Regions from separate parts of the Homo sapiens genome. Here all the other regions are linked to region 3. The links are contacts of gene promoters, found by promoter capture Hi-C in human tissues and cell types (Jung and others, 2019). All regions are on one chromosome and are shown on one strand. Each heading gives the region's core, a stretch centred on a gene start or on the middle of the fragment in contact. The rest is flanking DNA. Distances are from core to core; before and after follow the strand shown. Region 1 overlaps CDH20 (cadherin 20). Region 2 overlaps PIGN (phosphatidylinositol glycan anchor biosynthesis class N). Region 3 holds the start of RNF152 (ring finger protein 152).

Region 1 (3,693 bases), core at 1,080-3,579, 400 kb before region 3:
AACGCTTGTTTAGCACAGAGGCTGGGAGCATGGGTTTCAGATTCAAACACAGGTGGGTTCAAAGCCCAGCCCTGCCAATTATTTCTAGAGGAACTTTGGACAGGTCACCAAGCCCTGCTCATCTCGGCTTCCTCAAATTCGAATGAGATTGAGAGAACTGCTCCTTCTCAAGTGTTGTCTACCCAAGTTCTTTCCCCAGTGTCCACTCACTTCTTAACCCAGGTATCTGGCTTTGGTCCCTACCTCTGACCCAAAGCTGTGTTTTCATTGCTTCTCAAGACCTCTCTACTGCCCAATCACACCTCCCAGTCACAACCTCAGACACTGCTGACCTGTCTCTCCTTGACTCATTGTCCTATCTGTGCCATGACCTTCACAATCCCGTTTTTCCTTCTTTTTTCTCAGCCGCGTTTGTGGGTCCTCTCCTTCCACCTGACCCCATTTGTTGGTGGGCTTGTCAGCTTTGCCCTAGCCTCTTCTCCACACACTCATTCCCTGGGTGGACTCGCCACCTCTGCAGTTTTGAATGCCATGTCTATGCCAATGAATGCAAAACCTCTATCTCTGGCTTAGACCACTTTGGGTTATAAATTCTACTGCACATGTGACATCTCCACATCTACTCATAGGCCTTTCCAATGTAGTGTGTCCAGTAAGAAACTCTTGTTTTTTTTCTCCTAAACGTAGTCTGCCCCAACACCCACCCATTATTTCCTAAAACCAGAGAACTGGGGATCATTCCTCCCTTTCCCCTGCCCACACATTCTCTCCCTCTGCAAATTCTGCTAGTCCTATGCCAGAATCAACCCCAAATCCTGCATTTCTCTTATCCCTGCTTCCACCATCATCTGTCACCTGGGCAAGTACCTAGCCTCCCAACCAGTCTCCTCATGTCCACCTGCACCTCCCTCCCATCTGTTCTCCACCATGGTCTTTTTAAAATTTAAGTCACATCATGTCACTCCTCTACTTACGTCTCTTCAATGTTTTCCCACTGTGCATTGAATCCTCCAGACACCTCCCCACAGCTAACAAGACCATCCCTTTCTGGATCAGCCTGCCTCCTGGCATCCACCCATGGCCCATGCTACTCTCTCCCTCATTCTCGCGTTGCAGCGGTATGACCTTTGACAGTTCCTACAACCTGTCAAGCACTGCCTTTACTGCTCCCCCATAATGAAATGCCCTTCCCCTGGCTTCTCTCATGACTTCCTTGGCCACTCTCTAAGGCAAGCCCCTCTGTTAGACTCTCTTTCACAGCCCTAATCACAACCACCATATTTGTTTCTTATTTACATGTTTATTGTCTGAAGCCTCTGACTAAAACTAGAAGCTCAATGAAAGCAAGAACATTGCTCCCATTTTATCCCCAAGGCCTAACACAGCATTTATCTTATAGAAGGTGCTCAAGATGACATTTAATAAATGAATGTCTCACTGTGGAGTAAGGATTAAATAAGCTAATGCATGTAAAGCACTTTGCACAGTACTTAATCCAGAGTAAAACTTTAATTATCCTTAACCTGTAGTAGTAAATAGTACTATAGTAGCAATAGTATTAATAGTGGTAATAGTAACAGCATTTAAGGAGTTCATTATGGGAACTCAACGCTCAGTAATACCTAATGCAGCTGCAAATCCCTTGGCCTCAAAACCTGTGACTTTTCATTGACTTCTCCTTTCCTTATCTCCTTTTACCTTCACGTGCAATCGGTCCCCATATCTGCCAATATTTCTGTGCCAGTTTCTCTCGGATGCATCTCCTCCTCTCTAGGCTCGGTCATGACCATGATCCTTTGCTCTTCCTGATTAGATTAACTATGCCGGTGCTGCCTGTCTCCCTGTGAAAAGACTCTTCCCATCCCTCCTCCAGGATGCTCAGCGCATTCCTCTCCCTGAAGCACCCTTTCCATCATGTTGCTCCTCTGATTAAGAAAGCACTACAGTGCTTTTGAATGCTATCAGAGCTCCTAGCATGCAGTTCAGGGACTTCCTCCTCCCTCACTCAGCCCTCGTGCACAATTTCTCAAATCAGGTCCTCATCCCAATCAAGCTGGACCTCCTTAACTGGTTCTGCCACACATACCACGTTTGTCCCTGACCCCACATGTGTGCCCACGCTGCTGCCCTGCCCAGGACAGGCCCTGACTTCCGCTCATCAGGCCACATTCAAATTCCTCAAAGTTTTAGCTTAAAATCAGACAATTCTATCATGAACATATCTTGTATCTACTCAGAATTCCAAAGACTTCTAGCTTCTCCATATCTATATAACATTTCTTCCAAATAGACATACATGGCCACTGCCAAGTTCAAGAAAAGAGTATGTTTGTATTCAGCAATTTTCAGTAATTACTTATGTGCACATAAAATTTAGGGCTCTCTTCCCTCCTCCCAAGGGTAGAAATTGAGACGCCACTCACCAACTTTGTCTACACCTCCCTGACGCTGAGTACTTGGCACAGAACTGGCCACACACAAAGAGTGCAGAAGGGTAGCTCACGTTTTATTGGACTACCACAGTACTATGTGTCGGTCACAATCACATCAAAGCAGATCATTTAATCATCATAACAATGCTGTGAGGTGAGTATAACACAGGGAGCTAGACTCAGAGAGGTTATTTATGTTCATTGCCCAAAGTTAGACCGAAGGTAGCAGGGAAGCCCAGACTGAAATACACATCACTCCTACCCCAAAGCCCCAGCTTTCATTTACATTGCCTTGTCTGTGGTCAGTGGCTTTAGACTAAGCCCAGAGGACACACACAGGAGTCAGTGGTGTTTAGGTGGGATCAGGAATCTGAGCCAGGCTGCTTCCTGAACCCTTGATCTCTCATGCTGGGTAGTTCTTAGCTGTGTAGCACCCTTGCATACTCACAATTAGTGCTCGCCCTTTCCAAATAACCCCAACCAAGATACAAGACACCCATGCATCTCAACAGTCATCTGATCCAATCCTCATACCAGCAACCAAGCGAAGATTTTTAGCCTGCATTAGGTGTGTTACCTCTACATGAAGAAGATAATTATATATTCACTTTTCCCTTTTACTTTCTTTTGAAAGGGAATTCATCCACTTTCATTCTCTTTACCCAGGGGCATTCTGCTTGCGACCTTGAGCTCCGGAAGATGTCTGTTTAGAGAGCTTGCCAGAGTATTTGCTTATTTCAGAAAGGAGTATGGCAGCAATTATCAGCTGTAATTGGTATGGCCTTACAAAATCCACACTGGGCTTTCCAGGGACAAGGCAGTGTCAAGTTAAAGCTAGATTATATTGACATATGCAAAGAGAGGGATGCTGAGAGCTTGTGCACGAATCTGTGGGTCCAAATCATGCCGAGGTTAACAACTACATGGAAGCTGCCTAACCACAAACTGTAAGCACTCACTGCATACTCGAAATTACTCAAGGTACTCTGAAAGATGACAAAAGGAGTGAACATCATTCTTGTTTTTGAAATCCTCAATCAGCTAAGATTCTTCAGGACCTGCTTGTACTTCCCATCACTCACTACTCCCTTGGCTGAAGATCTTAAAAACTAAAGAATGATTAGGATAAGTGAGACATTCACTTGTCTTATTCTGCCTAAAATATTTTTTTAGGAAGGAAAAAAAACATTTTCCCAAGATGTACGTAACTGTGCTGCTGACTCTGCTCGGAAGCTTCTTACCTTCCTCCAAATAGCTGGTG
Region 2 (3,475 bases), core at 336-2,835, 280 kb after region 3:
AGAAAACTACACAATGTAAGTTTCTCCCTTCATCTAAAGTAATTACATATTTTACTCTACAAATTGTAGAACATTTCACTTGTTCACTATACTTCATTCTAATTGTTCTTCAGGAATTTTATACACAGGTACTGACCCCAAAACTCAGATTAAAGGTTAAAACTCTTTAACCCATTCCCCATAAAATTTCCATTTTCTTCCCTTTCAATGTAAATTAGATTACATCTTTTCCCTTCTTAAAGTCTGTGAGTAGCTTTCCATTGTTCCAAGAGTAATATCCTGTGTTCTTCCACTACCTCCGTGGCCCTGCATACCTCTCTCACCTCATTATGGCATCCCACCTTGGGCTCCCAAAGTGCTGGGATTACAGGTGTAAGCCACCACACCCGGCCAAATGCATGTTTCTAATATGTATCCTCAGACTAGAATATAAGCTAGAATGAAGGCAATGACTGTGTTTCTGTTCACTCATGCTCACCACCTAACGGCATAGTGCAGTCACTTTATGATTCATTGGTGGAATGAGTATATATTTGAACTTTATTTATTTTCCCCCAGTTCACTAAAAAGTACAGTTAATGTAGCATCAAGTCAAAGAGAAATTTTACTTATTTTGGGGAATATGGCAGGAAGAGAGCTAATAAAAAGTCCTTGAAAGCTTCTAAAATTCCCCCTAGGTATCTTAGGAACCATCATTAGCTAATTAATCTTTCAATTAGGAAGTACAGGCTCTATTGTCTCAAATTTCAGATAAAGAAAAGGTAAGAAATGAACAAGAAGTTTCAGGCAATTTTTATTTTTAAATAACTTATTTAATGAGATATATAACTAGGCTATAAAAGAGTATCTAAAATTCCAGAAAGGAAAATCAAGTGAGAATATAATTGATAATTTTCTCTAACATTATGTTAGAGAGAATTGCTTTAACAAGTAATGACTTATTATCCTTATCTCTACCAGAATACAATGAGATATTAATGAGTTTAGAATCCCATATCTCTTTTTTACAGAATAATTTCAATTAATTCAGGTAGCAGGAATGAGGGAGATATAAAATTACAACTAGGCAAACATCACAGTAATTATTGCCACCAAGATCCATTGATAAATGCTAAAATCAATGGATCAAAGTTTCAGGGAAACAGGATATTTGCAGTCTTAAAGAAACGTCTCCAAATATTTATTCCTTACAAAGGGAAAAATACTAACAATGGAGAAAATAGTCAGACACCATTTAACCAAGTGGTCATGGTTAACACAACCAATAGTAAGACATACTAACATCATGTAACCCTGACCAGATGCACCGAGAAAGGCAAAACATGGTAGTCTTGGCAAAAGAACATGTGGTATTCTTGTTAAAAATGTATAATCTCAATCTAATAATGGTAATATATCAGATAGACCCAAATTGAGACAGCCTACAAAATAATGGACAAGTACTCTGTAAAAGAATGGAGGAGGTTAAAGAGACTTACCTAAACACAACAAGGGAAACCGGATGAGAAAATAGTGGAAAAACTAGTTAACTTCAACTAAGATCTGTAGTTAATAGTATTATACAAATACTAATGTACTGGTTTTGATAATTATATGATGTTTACATAAGATGTTTACATTAGGTGAAGTTGAGTAAAGGGTGTACTGGAACTCTGTACTGTTTTTGCAACTTTTCCACAGATCTAAACATTATTTTTAAATAAAAAGTAAAAAAAAAAAAATTGGAGTCTGAATCTATACTCAAAAGATACACTGTTGTAATTATAAACCACCGCAAGTTTTATGGATAGCTCTGATTTCAGGTAACCTTTGTTCTTGTCAAACATGATTTGCTAAACTTACAGACTATCAGTGATTTAATGTTCACATTGGCATAAACCATATTAAAAAGCTTATGAATTAAAGATGGTGTCCCATAGGTCCCTATGGTTTTGTTCACTTTTCTTCATTTCTTTTTCTTTCTGCTTCTATAATTGCAATTGCCCCATTTTCAGGTTCATTGACTCTTTCTTCCACCTGTTCAAATTTGCTGCTGAATCCCTCTTGTGAACAGTTTGTTTCAATTATTGTACTGCTAAGCTCCAGTATTTCTATTTGGTTCATTCTAATAATTTATATCTCTTTTGATGCTCTTATCTCGTTCATACATCACTTTCCTGACTTCCTTTAGTTCTTTGTCTATGGTTTCCCATAGCATTTTGACATATTTAAGACAGATGATTAACGTCTTTGTCTACTAAGTCCAATGTCAGGACTTCCTCAAGGGTGGCTTCCACCAATTTGTTTATTTTTTTCTGTGAATATGCCATCCTTTCCTGAGTCTTTATATGCTTTTTTGTAACTTTCTGTTGAAATTTATATTTCGAATATTATAATGCAGTAATTCTAGAAATCAGATTCCAGAATTCTGGCATTTTCTTTTGATTTTTGAAGGGTTCAGCCTTTTGTTTAGTAACTTTTCCAAACTATTTTTGCAAAGACTTTATTCCTTTTGTTTATGGTCATTAAAGTCTCTGTTTTGTTATCTTACTGATCAGCCAATGGCAGATTTAGATTTCCTTAAATGCCTAAAACAAAAACAAATAGTACTCTCCCAAGTTTTTGTAGTCTGGCTCTCAGCTGAAGTACTCTCACACTAAGCTTGGCCACCTACACTTCTGCCTTAGCCTTCACCTTCTGCTTGTCTAGTGCTCACAGATCTTCCAAAGGTAGAAGCGTAGGCACCTCTCAGGATCTTTCTGGGAATGCATTACATGTAATTTTTGCGGGGGATAAAGATGGGACAAAATTCAGCCTCTACATTGGTCACTCAGGAAACCACTAGACAGATCAAAATGCACAACCACAGTATTTTAAGAACAAAGTCCATACTAAATACAAGCAAGTCACACCAGAAATGTGGGCCATAGTCCCCACAGCTGCTGCCATTGCCACAATGGTGAATGAGGATGGTAATCCAGTGGATTAAATGCCACAGCACTCTGAAATTCAGCTGCCCTCTTCTTCATTATGCAGTCTCCTGGTTGCTGTAAATGTCAGACCAGATTTTAGAATCCCAAAACAGTTGATCCTGTCACTCTGCCCCCTTATGCTTGTTTCAGTGGAGGAACTAACCCTTATAATAAACCACCGTACTCTGCCATTTTCGGTAATGTCACCTAGAGATTGTGTTCTTAACCACTTCAACATTTACTAAAAATACACAAACCTACGATGTGAAGTAAAACCAGCCAAAACTGTAAGACAGAGCTGGTAGTCCCAGCTACTTAGGAGGGTGAGGCGAGAGGATTGCTTGAGCCTAGGAATTCAAGGCTAGCCTGGGAACATAGCAAGACCCACTTAAAAAAAAAAAAAGAAGAAGAGGAAAGAAAAACTGTAAGATAGTACTTGGAGCCTGCACACAAGATTATCAGATAAACTATTAAGCCATATAATTAGCACTAGTTCATTTGCTTATTATTCTGGGGTATATATT
Region 3 (3,599 bases), core at 875-3,374:
ACAGCAACAGCCATTTATGAAGCAGTGAGCTCCTCAATGAAAGAGGCATTAAAGTTGAGGCTGGATGACCATATTTTCTCTCCCCAGAAGTCCAATCCTACCTCTCTTGAGCTTCCATTGAAGTTAATTAGAATCAGGTCTTCCTATAGGGAGTTCAATTTTGTGTCTCCCCCTACACCCAACCCCAACCCCTTGAGTCCATTATCTATCACAGAGTCCATTATCTATCAGGTGCCAATAAACATCTGCTAAATGAATAAATGAGCATTGTAGAAAGGAAGCAGGCATTGGAGGCAGAGATCAGCCTAATAGCCTCTAGGGATCCTCCAGCCTAAAGCTAAACACATCTGAGGGTGGGGAGCCTCCTTCTTATATAAAAAAAATTAAGCATCAATGGACACTTTATTATGATTTATTACTGTACACAATTTAAAACCACAATGAAACCTAACACTGCACTGTGGCTATCTTTGTTCTTGGACGTGCATTTACATGGGCAGGCTACTGTTTTGCCATGTGGAATTTTGTGTGCGAAGTGTTTATTCTTTCTATTAAAAAAAAAACCACACCCTTGTTTCTATTGCATTATTACATTCCCTATTATCCCATCACATGTTTTTTCTTCTTGCAGCAACACAGTACACACCCTGTACTATTGCTGACATAAAAATTACTTGTCAAAAATACCTCTATCTTAGCACCACATTACTCATCTGATCTTTGCAAAGCACTGGCCTTTGTTTCACCTGGGACTAGATAACTCAACTGCTTTTACTAGTGACTCCTGAATGCTTGTAGTAGAAGGATAAATGCTAGTGTCACCTATGTTTTTAAAGTCACCTTCCAAAACAAAACTACATTGGAGGTGAATAATAAATCTTTCAAGTTTTTAACTTCATTTTTCAAGGGATTTGGAGGAAAATGGTGAAGAGAGAATCTGTCACAGATACCAAGGTGTTACTGCAATGTAAAAGAGAGTAGACCAGGAGCCTTTGGCCCTCAGCAATCTGTCTTCCTACAAGAAAAATCGAAAGCCCATTTCCATAACCATTCTTATTCCCTGCTACTAGTGTAGGATGCGCAGGACTCTGCCCTCTAGCAGAAAATGCTAATGCCGGAGTGTCCTGCTAAGTCTGAAGGTTACGTTTTTTCATTGCACTCTTATCAAGATAACCCCAGATCTGGCTAGGCTGACATCAAAACAGAACTATCCTTGGAAAGAAAAGAACAGGCCAGAGTTTTTGGAAAAGCCCCAATAACCTAAAGATAAAATCCAGAATGAGAGTCTACTGGTTCATGGCTATCTAAATGGAAACTTCACTCAAGCTGTTTTCTCTGTTCTCTTTCTGCTGCCCCCAACAGCCCTCCCTTCCACCTCCCAGTACTCACTGCTAGCATGTCTCTCTTAATATTGCAAACACTATTACAATGAAGGAACAGAAGAAAGACAGTATTTCATACGAAGGTCACTGCATTTGACCGGTGCTCAATTAGAGCACTGGGCAAAAGTACAATCAGCCTTCCAATGATACCTTTTCAACAAAGGATACCCCACCTCTAGACTGAAGCCTAAATCTATTACTACAGATAAGAAAGCAGGCATCTATGGAAACCTAACATTCAGATACAACTGCCTGTGTATGAATTATATCAAAATTCCCATGAAAGGAAACCAGGTGGGATTTCTACAATCCCAAATTCACCCTGCACCTACCTCCAATGGCTTCTTCAAAGGGAAGGTATAAAGTCATTTGCAATTTATTTCTTTGAACCAGGAGTTTTAGCAGCCCCCACACCTTCTCACAGATAGGAACGATGTTGATGCAGAAACCACCCAAACAGCCCTGTGCCAGCACTGTCGGCCCAAATGACCCAGAGACACCCAGGCGCTACCCAGATCGTGGGGGGTTACCTGTATCTGTCACCGAGTCTCTTTCACCCCTTCTGCGTGATGACATCAAGTGGAAATGGTACACGTTTAGGAGGCAAGAGGCTGACAGGCAGGAAACACAATTGAGACTGAGCTTTCTTCAGCCTGCAGTGAAATACATGCAGGAAGGGTTAGATACGCGCCGCGGAGAAGGAAATCCAAGCGCCCTCCTGGGCAGACGGGGCTGGAGCGGGTGCACTAGGGAGGTGGAGCAAGGCAGATGAGGTGTGGAGGGCTGGCGGCCGAGAAGGGGGCGTCACGGCTCCTAATTGTCTCTACAGGATAAATAACCACCTCCCCCCTCCTCCGCAGTCTCCCCCGCCCACGAGTTCCCCTCTGGTGGCAGAGCGCCTACTAGCAACAGTAAGCCCTAGGAAAGAAAGAAATCGGAGCAGGTGGGGAATAACATCTTGGGGCAAAGACACACTGGCAAAATCTACCAGGTAACCCGGTCATATGGGAATGCGGGGCGCCTAGTCAGCCGCGCAGACAGGCACACAGCGCGGCAATCCCGAGCATCTTTCTTTCGTTTGCCCCTGTCCGCCACCTCATCAAGTCACCGCCACCTCATCAAGTCACCGTCACCTCATCAAGTCACCGTCACTCTGCTTTGGCGATTTCTCTACTCTCTCCAGACCCAGGCAGCGCTCCCCAAGCCATGCCCCGACCCCAGGCGGGATTGGGGACCGCCGCTTCCCGAGCAGCGCCCCACGAGTCCAGCTGGCTTTGTCCTGCCGCTGTCCTTCCAGGAGCAAGCGCCCCAGGCGCGTGTGTCTGCACAAAAGACCCCCAACATCTGGCCCTTCACAGCGCTCTCTAATCCCGGGAGGGGCCCTGGGGCAACTTCTAGGGCTGGAGAAGGCGCGAGACAAGGGGACCGGGAGAAGATGAGCCGGGGTGTGTGCGGGCCGGGGGCGCAACTGGGGCGGGCGCGCGCGCACGTGCACACCCAGGGGCGCGCGCGGCGCGGGCACGAGGAAAGCTCCCTCGGACCGGAGCTCCAGGGGGCATCCGAGGACTCGGCCGAGCAGCCGACAGCGCCGCTCCCCGCCGCGGCCGCCCGCCCAACTCCGCCAGCTCTCAGGAGACACGCAACTCCCGGGACCACCTCCCCCGTGCCCCGCCAGACCCCGCGCTCCCCTCCCCGGGACCCTGCGGCCCCGCCACCCCCTCCGCGGTCCAGAAGATCTCCCCAGTTACAGCAGGCGGCAGCTGCCCTTTCCCGCTTCCACGGCTTCGGCGCGGCCGCCGTAGGGGCGCAGACATCCCTGCGCACCCCTCTGTCCGCCCCCGATCCGGAGCCGGCAGAGCAGAGAAACAAACCGAAACTCACTGACCTTTCTCCGCGGCGGGCTCGGGTGCTCGCTACAGAGGCGGCGGCGGCGGCGACAGCATCGCCGGGTGGTCCCGGCGCGCCCGCTCCTTTCAGCCAGACTCGCGCCCCGGGCCGGCGGCCGCCGCTCCTCCGGCCGAGAGCCACGGGGCGGACGCTGACAGCGCGGCGGCGGCGCCTGCAGCCCCAGCACCCGGCCCGGCCCTTCGGGCGGCACCCCCACCTGCCCGGCCGCCCTCCGCGTTCGCGGTCGGACACCGCCGCCAGGCGCTCGGCACCGAGCGAGAGCTTTTTGTGTCACTGAGACTCCGGCACCAAAGGGGGTGGGGGGAGAGG

The links. The method cuts DNA at HindIII sites, captures the fragments that hold promoters and counts their contacts. A contact is called where the count stands out against the background at its distance.
Region 1: a fragment that was not itself captured here is called in contact with the fragment with the promoter of RNF152 in region 3 in 2 of the 25 tissues and cell types used here (hippocampus and thymus).
Region 2: a fragment that was not itself captured here is called in contact with the fragment with the promoter of RNF152 in region 3 in 1 of the 25 tissues and cell types used here (hippocampus).

Annotation. Positions count from the first base shown.
Region 1 is chr18:61,491,488-61,495,180 of GRCh38, forward strand. The region is part of intron 2 of CDH20 (cadherin 20); the gene reads left to right. Among named protein-coding and RNA genes, the nearest start is that of CDH20, 160 kb to the left of the region's middle. The HindIII fragment of the contact is 7,772 bases long and covers 1-3,693 here.
Region 2 is chr18:62,175,260-62,178,734 of GRCh38, forward strand. The region is part of intron 1 of PIGN (phosphatidylinositol glycan anchor biosynthesis class N); the gene reads right to left. Among named protein-coding and RNA genes, the nearest start is that of PIGN, 10 kb to the right of the region's middle. The HindIII fragment of the contact is 4,111 bases long and covers 1-3,475 here.
Region 3 is chr18:61,890,883-61,894,481 of GRCh38, forward strand. RNF152 (ring finger protein 152) reads right to left here and starts at 2,125. Exons shown (of 2, transcript NM_173557.3): 1 at 1,913-2,125. RefSeq lists silencers at 3,311-3,460, 3,531-3,599. The HindIII fragment of the contact is 14,100 bases long and covers 1-3,599 here.